Regions from separate parts of the Homo sapiens genome. Here region 2 is linked to region 1. The links are contacts of gene promoters, found by promoter capture Hi-C in blood cells and fetal thymus (Javierre and others, 2016). All regions are on one chromosome and are shown on one strand. Each heading gives the region's core, a stretch centred on a gene start or on the middle of the fragment in contact. The rest is flanking DNA. Distances are from core to core; before and after follow the strand shown.

Region 1 (4,793 bases), core at 1,681-4,180:
AGTGCTGACTCCGTTTTATAGCACAAGGAGGAGCTGAACAGCAGAAATGCTTAGAGAAGAGAAAGATAAGTTGAATTCTCTTGTCAAATTCTCCCTTGCAGGTAGCATGGATGCATATATTTTTTCATCATGAAGTCTCACTTCCGAATAGGGCCAATCATCTAGTGTCTTGCTGCTCTGTGTTCAAATTCATATAGTCTTGGAGGTGTTCCCCTCTACCTGAACGGTGGTACCACACACCTCCAAAGTTAGAGGCGGGCCTGGGCACACTCACCTGCAGACTTGGATATATTCTGTTGGCAATGGCTATGACTTCTGTCAACTAAAAGAAAATCAAGCTTTTAAGGAATTAAAGTTAGTTTTATTCAGAAGTCTTACTGAGGTTCTGTAATCCCAGCATTTTGGGAGGCCGGGGCAGGTGGAACACCTGAAGTCAGGAGTTTGAGATCAGCCTGGCTAACATGGTGAAACACTGTCTCTACTAAAAATACAAAAATTAGCTGGGCGTGGTGGTGGGCGCCTGTAATCCCAGCTACTCCGGAAGCTGAGGTGGGAGAATCGCTTGAACATGGGAGGCGGAGCTTGCAGTGAGCCGAGGTCGAGCCACTGCACTCCAGCCTGGGCAACAGAGTGAGACTCTGTCTCAAAAAAAAAAAAAAAAAAAAAAGCAGAAGTCTTACTGAGGACTAGAGACTGAAGACAAAGTCTGGGAGGAGTCTTTCAGAGAGGTCCTGTCCCACTGCTCTGAAACAGTGTTTTAGCTCATAGCTGATATACACGTAGCAGAAGTGCAGTATGTGCTCAAACATTACATCAAACTTGCTCAGAAGTTACAGTAAAGCAGAATCACATGAAAGTCTGGGTGCAAGAGTATATCTGGTTATAGATGATAGAGGCATAGTCACTAACCTTGTCAAACATTATCCTATGTGTAGGAATAGGCAAGGTCTAGGGTCATTTATCTTTTAAGAAATATAGTGTCTCAGGCAAAAGTTGTGGGGGCCTTGTGCTGTATCCTGCTTTGTTTTCAAAGCATTTTTCCAGAGAGGTGCACATCATTACAGAATCAAGGGCTTGTGAAATTATGCAGCAAGTAAAATGAGCAAACGTGGCTTGTTACATTTGCTGTGTCTCACATTTCCCTTTCTCTTTTAACCTCTCCCTTCCCCAACCCGATCCCGACCCCTTGGAGAAGGGGCTGTTGCATTTGACAAAGAAATTGATCCTTATGTAGAGTAAGCAACTTGTTTAAAGTCATCCAGCAAATTAGAGGAAGCCCCATGCTGGGAGAACCCATCCTTAGAGGCCCAGCTAGAGGTCCGCAAGTAGACAGTGGAGGGTCGTAGGTAGGAGGACAGGCTTGGGGTCAGAGCAGCTCGGTTTACACCTGGCACCCTCGTTCACTAGCTGTGCAACCTTGGGAGCAAGTGTCTCAGAGTATTTAAAGGACAGTTTTTTCTATTCCTATACAAGATGTTAACATTAAGGGAAGCTGGTGACAGGTATATGGGAACTCTCTATACTATTTTCGTAACTCTTCTATAAGTCTAAAATTATCTCATGATAAAATTTTTAAAAATAACAGTTTCCTCTTATCTGTAGCATGGAAAGAGTAAGGATATCTGTCTCCTAGGAGGCTTCGATGAGACAGTGCCTGGAAAGGGGTTAGCACAGTGTCTGGCCCATGCTGACGACTCCATACATAACAATTCTTAAAAGCTGCCTCCTCCAGGAAGCCGGTGAGCACCACTGGCAGAACCAATCACTGCTTTCTCAGTAGCCCCACACCCTCACTGCCCAGGAGCAGTTTATTTCAGTGTAAAATGCCAGGCGGCTTAATGTGACCACTGACAGCACGAGTTTGATCCTGGCTTTTCTGCTTCTCAGCTGAGATCCCCAGCAAGTTACTTGAGCACTTTGTGCCTCAGTTTCCTTTTGGTAAATAATAAAAGTCTGTACATTATAAGGCGGTCATGAAGATTAAATGAACTGGAATTTTTCAGCACTTAGAACTCTGCCTGGCCTATAGCAAACTCTACATACCTATTTTTATGCTCCAGGTCAGTGGTTTTCTAACTTGCTTTTTACTGTTACCCATAGTAACAAATATGCTTTCCATCACAACGTGTGTATGTGTGTGTGTGTATAAATAATTTTAAAGTGGTAATTTCAAAAACATTGGTCTCTAAGAGATGATCACATTTTGTTTCCCCCATTAAAATATAAGGTACTTGGGGGACAGGGAATAGTCTGACTCATTTTGGTCTCCAATCACTTCATTTCCTTCTTTCATTTAATTTACCAAGCTCCTATTATCTATTCATTAGACATAAATATATATTGAGCATTAACTCACTATGTACCTGTTACCTACCAGCACAGATCAGACCTGGGTTGAATCAATGAACGGGTAAGGCAAGGAAAGGAGGTCGCAGGGCAGAAGGCAGGGAGGAAGGGCAGGAGGGTGAAATGGAAGGAAGGGAGGAAAGGTGGAGGGGAGGAAGGAGAGGGGGAGGGTAGGAGGGCGAGAAGGAAGGAAAAGAAGGAACCCAGGTTCCCAATTGGCAGCAGTACCCACTTCCAACCCCTATGTTGCCACTTCCACCTCGGCAGGAAAGTTGCCCCTTCTCCAGCCATCTAGGTCCCCTGTACTCTTTCCCTGGGGATGGAGCTGGGTGCCGGTGCAGGCATCGGAGGAGCGGTGCCGGGGAACCCGCCTCCTCACCTCTTGCCCCTAGCACGGGGCGGTGACTCCAGAGCTGGGAGCCTGGCAGCGTCCTCACCCCAGGAAGGCATGCGCCCCTCTGCGGGCGGCCCCAGCCCTGGGCCCCCTGCCCCCGGAATTGCCCAAGATGCCGGGTGACTCCTCCCCGGGGACTCTCCCACTCTGGGACGCGTCACTCTCCCCACCCCTGGGTCCGGACCCCGGCGGCTTCTCGCGCGCGAGCCACGCGGGGGACAAGTCGCGGCCACCTGCTCCGGAGCTGGGGAGCCCGGGCGCCGTCCGCCCGCGCGTCGGTTCGTGTGCCCCGGGCCCCATGGAGCTGCGGGTCAGCAACACCAGCTGCGAGAACGGTGCGTACGGCAGGGCTGGGGACCAGGCGGGCTCCGCGCTTCGCGCCCTCCCCTCCTTGCCACCGCTCTCCCTCGCATCCTCTCCTCCCAGGGGGGCCAAAGCTGGGGAGGGGCAGGGCCAGCACGAGGTGGCTCCCACCCAGCTTTGAAGATCTGGGTTCTGGCTGAGACTTCACTTTCATCTTCGCAGCTGGGATGGCTGAGAGGAGTCAGGGAAGGAAAGTATGTCCCCTGGGTTGAGATGGGGGGTTAGTGGGGGGCAGGCATTTTGACGACAGCAGACACCCTGAGAGGTGGTGGGGGCGGGGGGAGGATTCTGTGTTTTTAATGTGTAGTTGCTTCAGGTTTTAGTACCTGCGCAGTTTGGGCTTTCTCTCTGGGTCAATGGGAGGACCATCACAGGACGGTCTTGTCTTTGGAAAAGAAAAAGAACCACAGGAAGGGGTAAAGAAAGACCCCTGACTTCCTATTGCGTTCTGACCATAAAGCAGGTAGTGGACTAGGCCCTTTACCCGCATTATCTCACTGAATCCTTAAAACAACTCTAGAAGGTAGGTAGGTATTATTATTTTACTATCTTGCTATCCCCACTCTAAAGATCCAGAAACTGAGGCTCTGAGCAGCTAATAATTTGCTCAAGGTAATACAGTGAGGAAATGGAATATAGATCCAAGGCTGGTGGACAGTAAAACCTCAACTCCTTCCTTGGTGTGGCTCCACTTTCCTACCTTGTCTTGGAACTGCAGGCTGTGGCATGTCCCTGTTTCTCTAACCTCTTCCCTTCTACAGTGAAGCTTTCAAAGCCAGCCTGTTAGGTGTCTGACTTTGGTTTCCTGAACAAGGCAGGCATTTTCAGCCTCACCTTTTCTCTAGGCCAGAATGTGTTCCCCAGTCCTAGCATATTCTGGAAGAGATAACAGGAATCATCTGGCCCATGCTCAGAATTGGATTACTTTGGCCATCAGCCCTCTGTCTTTTACTTTTCACTGCAGTGGGAGAACTTGACTCAATGGAGGATGCTCAGCCCTTGGGTGTTGCGGGCTTTACTGTGACAGCCAAGTCCATCCACAGAGGGTTCGTTGGCTCCATCTGCTAGAGGTGCACCTTCAGGGAGCAGGGGAAGGGCGTGGGGATGAGTTTGGTCTTCCTCTCAGGAGTCACCTCCCCTAGCCCATGTTCTCCCAGGTTCTGGCTCATTTCCTGGGCTCAGGGAACTCCCCAGATTCAGCTCTTGGGCAAGGAAGCCTGAGCTGGAGAAACAGGAATGAGCAGTGCAGAACAAGTCTGATTAGGGACTGAGATGCCTCTTGTCTCATCTTCCCTTGATTGTGACACGAGTTTTGGAAAGAGAGATATCACACTGCAAAAGACACATGGATGTGCCCCAGTGGGTGCTGGATCCAGATCTTTCACCAGATGTTGGGGTGACTTAAGCAAGCTCTTCCCTTTCTCAGGGCCTCAGTTTCCCCAGAAAAAATAAGAATTTAGACTGCTTTCTAAGGGCTCTTCAAGCTCTGTTATTCATGGGTCTGTGTCGTGGAAGAAAGGTCAACATTGCCTTTAGTCTGTTCCACCAAGATGCCACTCTGCCCTGCAGATGTGCCAGAGCCAGAGTTGCTTGACCATGGACTTTGGGGCCCTTCCAGGCACTGCCTGGGAGTTCTAGGTTGGTGGGAGAAATACTTGGTTGAGGCTTACATCCTTGGCATAGGGACCTG
Region 2 (4,793 bases), core at 720-3,219, 290 kb after region 1:
GAGAGGTAAATGATGATGGTCAGACCAGAATTCTCATGGTCTTTTCCAAAGTCACTGCTTCGTGTCGCTTCCAACTCCGAGTTATTCTCACACCGTTAATCTGACATAAACTCCTGCTAGTCTGCTAAGTCATTTTCTTCTAAGAATCTTTTATTAATTTATCACAGCCATCATTTATAAGCCAATCCATGACAGAGGGATAAGGTGGCTTCAGGAGGAACCAATTTAGTTATCCAAACTGAAGTGCAGGACTGTTGTTCTCCTTTATGTCACTAGAAACAAAGCAGGAGAGATTTTTCATTTGTCTACTGTCAATGCCAAATACTCTATATATCCAGACTTCTAAGACCTGACCAAAAATAAACTTTCTACAGAATTTTGCGTTGCAAACTTGGGAAAGAGTGAGACTGTGTACGCACGAGAAAGAGAGAGAGATTGGGGGTGCGTAGTGCGTGCCTGTAGTCCCAGCTACTCAGTGGGTTGAGCTAGGGGGATCGCTTGAGCCAGGGAGGTCAAGGCTGGAGTGAGCTGTGATTGTGCCACTGCACTCCAGCCTGGGTGACAGTGAGACCCTGTCTCAGGAAAAAAGAATGTGTACGGCTTTCTTTTGGGAGGTTTTATATACCATAGCCAGCATATTGTGAGAGCTGAGTTAACATGAAATAATAAAAATAAAATTCATCTTTCCTCCCACGCTCTGAGAATCCTTCATAATAAAAGCTGAAATTTATAGTCTCAATATTCTTCCTATGAGTCATTATCCTGCTCTCTTCACATGATGCTTATTAGTAGTGTCATAGGAGCCAGATACTCAGCCAGGTGCCTTTTACACTGTCAGGGCTTGGGCCAGAACCAGTGCTTTTCCTCCCAGAAACACCAGTGAGTCCAGAAAGCTTGTGCATGGAGTAGCTTTGGTGGGGTCAAAGGCCTTTCTTTCTGACAGGATTGTACATGTTTAAGGGCAGAGTGCAGTTTGTTTCCTTTGAACATGTAAACAAGGTTTTTGTTTTTTTGGAAGACTCAAGCTGGATATGTGATTCATGAATTGTCTTAAGGCACAGAATTGAGAAGGATCTCGCTGTTAATGTATACATTTAATGTTTGCGTGCCCGTGTGTGTGTGTGTTTCTCAAGATGGAGTCTTGCTCTGTTGCCCAGGCTGGAGTGCAATGGTGCGATCTCGGCTCACTGCAACTTCCACCTCCTGGGTTCAAGCCATTCTCCTGCCTCAGCCTCCTGAGTAGCTGAGATTACAGGCATGGGCCACCATGCCTGGCTAATTTTTGTATTTTTAGTGGAGATGGGGTTTCACCATGTTGGCCAGGCTGATCTCAAACTCCTGACCTCAGGTGATCCGCCCACCTCAGCATCCCAAAGTGCTGGGATTACAGACGTGAGCCACCACGCCCGGCCAACCCCAAAAGTTAAGTGATAGTGCATGTTAAAATCAGTGACATCGTGGAATAAGAGATATACCGGTAGTGAAACATTTGGCTGATATTCATACATATGGATGATCCACATTCTGTTGGAATCTAGTCTTGTGTCAGTGTGTGTTGGCCGTACGAGCCATGTTGCCCATTGGACCTTCCTGTTCCAATAGTGAGATTGTCACTCTACCATGGGCCACATGTTGCTGGCCGAAGTTGGGTGGTCGTGGCTTAATTCTGGGAATGAGGGCAGATATTAAAACTGTCCTGACTGTTCTTCTCTTGTTTCAGTGCACGAAGGCAGCCCTCTGGGTGAACTCCATCGCTGTATCCGTGAGGGGGTGAAGGTGAATGTTCACATCCGCACTTTCAAGGGACTTCGGGGCGTCTGTACAGGCTTCCTTGTTGCATTCGACAAGTTCTGGAATATGGTAATTAAGCCTTTCTCAAGGGGCTGGAGAACCTCCTACAGATTATATCTTCTATAATATTTAAAGGACCTGAGTAACTGCATTAAGTAAAACCCAAAAAATAACTTCTTAGAAGAACTAGAATTTTTGCATACTTTTGGGCAACAACAAGAAAAGGTCTTTTTATTGCTTCCTTCTCCTTAAGGCAGTGGCTCTTAACCAAGGTAATTTTGTTCTTCCTTCACTCCCAGGAACATTCATCAATGTCTGGGGACATTTTATTGTCACCACTATAGGAGAGGGTACTACTGGCATCTAATTGGTAGAGGCCAGGGTTGCAGCTAAACAGTCTACAACACACAAGATAGTCCCTCAACAACAAAGAATTATCCAATCTGAAAAGTCCTTAGTGCCAGGGTTGAGAAACCCAGCCTTAAGGACCAATTATTTTATCGGTTTAGTAATTTTTAGTTGATTTTCTACCAACCATTCTTTCATTAATTAAGAAAAACATTTATTGACTTCCCATTTTGGCTGAACCCCATGCTAGGTGCAAAAGTTTCAGAAAGGAACTTGCACTTTACAGTACATGGGAAGGTAAATAAGGATAGAGGTGAAGCAGACATCAGTAAACAAAGCATTTTGCATGATGTCTTTTTTTTTTTTTTTTGAGACAGTGTTTTGCTCTTGTCACCCAGGCTGGAGTGCAGTGGCACAATCTCAGCTCACTGCAACCTCCGCCTCCTGAGTAGCTGGGATTACAGGCCCCTGCCACCATGCCCAGCTGATTTTTGTATTTTTAGTAGAGACAGGGTTTCACCATGTTGGCCAGGCTGGTCTTGAACTCCAGACCTCAGGTAATCCGCCTGCCTCAGCCTCCCAAAGTGCTGGGATTACAGGCATGAGCCACTGCGCCCGGCCACATGGTGGTTTTATAATGAGGGAGTGTGCCACACTTCCTAGCCTTCTAGAGGCTTACTTTTTTTCTAGACATTTGTAGGAGAGAAGGGATATGTAATAGCACAACTATAATTTGAGGTAGTTAAGAACTACTAGGCTGCACGCGGTGGTTCACACCTGTAATCCCAGCACTTTGGAAGGCCGAGGCAGGCGGATCGCCTGAGGCCAGGAGTTCAAGACCAGCCTGGCCAACATAGGGAAACCCCCATCTCTACTAAAAATACAAAATTAGCCAGACATGGTGGCACAAGCTTGTAATCCCAGCTACTCAGGAGGCTGAGGGAGGAGAATCACTTGAAGCTGGGAGGCGGAGGTTGCAGTGAGCCGAGATCATGCCACTGCACTCCAGCCTGGGTGGCAGAGCGAGACTCTGTCAAAAAAAAAAAAAAAAAAAAAAGAACCACCAGAGCTTTCTGGTGTTTCTTTTCCATATGGTCTTCTATCTCCAACTTTCCTTTTCCCTGTGCTTTATCCCCATCCACGCATCCTCCTGGATAAGAACAGTAGCTGCTAACATATATTGAGTACCTGCTATGTGCCAGGTACTATACTGAGGGCTTCATATATTATCTCAATGAATGAGTTGTGGGTACTATTACTGTTCCATTTCACAAATGAAGAAATTGATTCTAGAGAGATTGGAATGTTGGTCGCAGATCACACTGTTAGTAAGTGGAAGTGCCAAACTTTTTCCTCGGCCTAACTCCTAAAACCATGTTTTTAACCATTAGGGAATTTGAATCCTAGCATCATCACTTGGTAACTGTGTGACTGTAAGCAAGATAATTTCTCTGAGCCTCAGTTTTCTCATTTCCAAAATGCAGGGAAAAATGTTTTATTATGATCTTTTTACCTTTGAAGAATTGAAGAGAATGTGTTAGATGATAGTGGTGATTATAACAGTACTGTCAGCTTCTATTTGTAGGGTGATTTACACTTTTCAAAGGAATTTGTCTTGTACTTCTCATTTGGTCCTAACAGCTGTCCTGTCGAGGTTGCTCTCGGTGATGAGAACTCACCAGCAATTCTGTGTGTAACCCTGGTTAATCTCTGTTAATTGCTTTCATAAGACATAGAAACTGAAGCGGGTAAAGAAGCAGTAATGTTCCTCAAAGTGGGATCTAAAGCCATCCTGCATCAGAATCACCTGGGGCTTCTGGTTGAAACAAAAGGTTCCTGGGCTTCATCCCAGACCTACCAAAACAGAATCTCCAGCAGAATAGCTTTGGGTTCGTATTTTAATAAACCTCCTAGATATTCTTGCACACTGAAATTTAAGACCTTCTACCATGCAGTCATAAAGGCCCTTACCATCCATAGGTGAAACCCATCTTATATGGTGATAGCAGCTTAAAAATATTACACAGAAGGTACCAGGTGTCACCATTTTCTTCTGCCTAGGAGCTGAGTCATCTGTTAAGTGTAGTTCTGCTCTGAATAGATGTTACTCTGCCTTTTTTTTTTTCCCTGAAAAAGCTATACAAATAATAATTTTAATTCTGTCTAATGTTTTTCCTTTTGGGCTGTTCCTCTAGGCACTTACTGATGTGGATGAGACCTACCGAAAACCTGTCCTAGGCAAAGCATATGAACGGGATTCTTCACTGACTCTCACTAGGGTAGGCAGTTTTCCCCTGACCTCCTGAGTAGCCATCATGCTTTCCAGCTTAGGAATTAAGATCCCTGAGCCCAGTGACTAGGATTTCCTAGAGGGAAATCTCTGTTGCTATAAACCAGCTGTGCCTGTACCAAGGTATTCCTTAGTTCCTCTTTTCATGCTTCCAGTGAATCTCAAGTGAGTCTGTGCTTGTAACCTGCATATTATTTGAGGAGCAAGTTGTCTCTTACAACACCTGAAAGTCTTTCAGCTTTATACCACAGAAATAAGCCTTTTCTCTTGACATATGTATTATGTGCATTATAGTTAGAAATAGGAAATTTATGGCCAGGCGTGGTGGCTCATGCCTGTAATCCCAGCACTTTGGGAGGCCGAG

Evidence for each region. The method cuts DNA at HindIII sites, captures the fragments that hold promoters and counts their contacts. A CHiCAGO score of 5 or more calls a contact.
Region 2: a fragment that was not itself captured here is called in contact with the fragment with the promoter of NIPAL4 in region 1 in 1 of 17 cell types (total B cells); the score reaches 6.4 in total B cells.

The regions. Positions count from the first base shown.
Region 1 is chr5:157,457,283-157,462,075 of GRCh38, forward strand. It overlaps NIPAL4 (NIPA like domain containing 4), which reads left to right and starts at 2,931. Exons shown (of 6, transcript NM_001099287.2): 1 at 2,931-3,075. The coding sequence starts at 3,039. NIPAL4-DT (NIPAL4 divergent transcript) reads right to left here and starts at 2,818. Exons shown (of 3, transcript NR_136205.1): 1 at 2,726-2,818. RefSeq lists a silencer at 2,825-2,984. The HindIII fragment of the contact is 3,531 bases long and covers 337-3,867 here.
Region 2 is chr5:157,749,670-157,754,462 of GRCh38, forward strand. LSM11 (LSM11, U7 small nuclear RNA associated) reads left to right here. Exons shown (of 4, transcript NM_173491.4): 2 at 1,721-1,860; 3 at 4,335-4,418. Among named protein-coding and RNA genes, the nearest start is that of LSM11, 8.4 kb to the left of the region's middle. The HindIII fragment of the contact is 2,157 bases long and covers 892-3,048 here.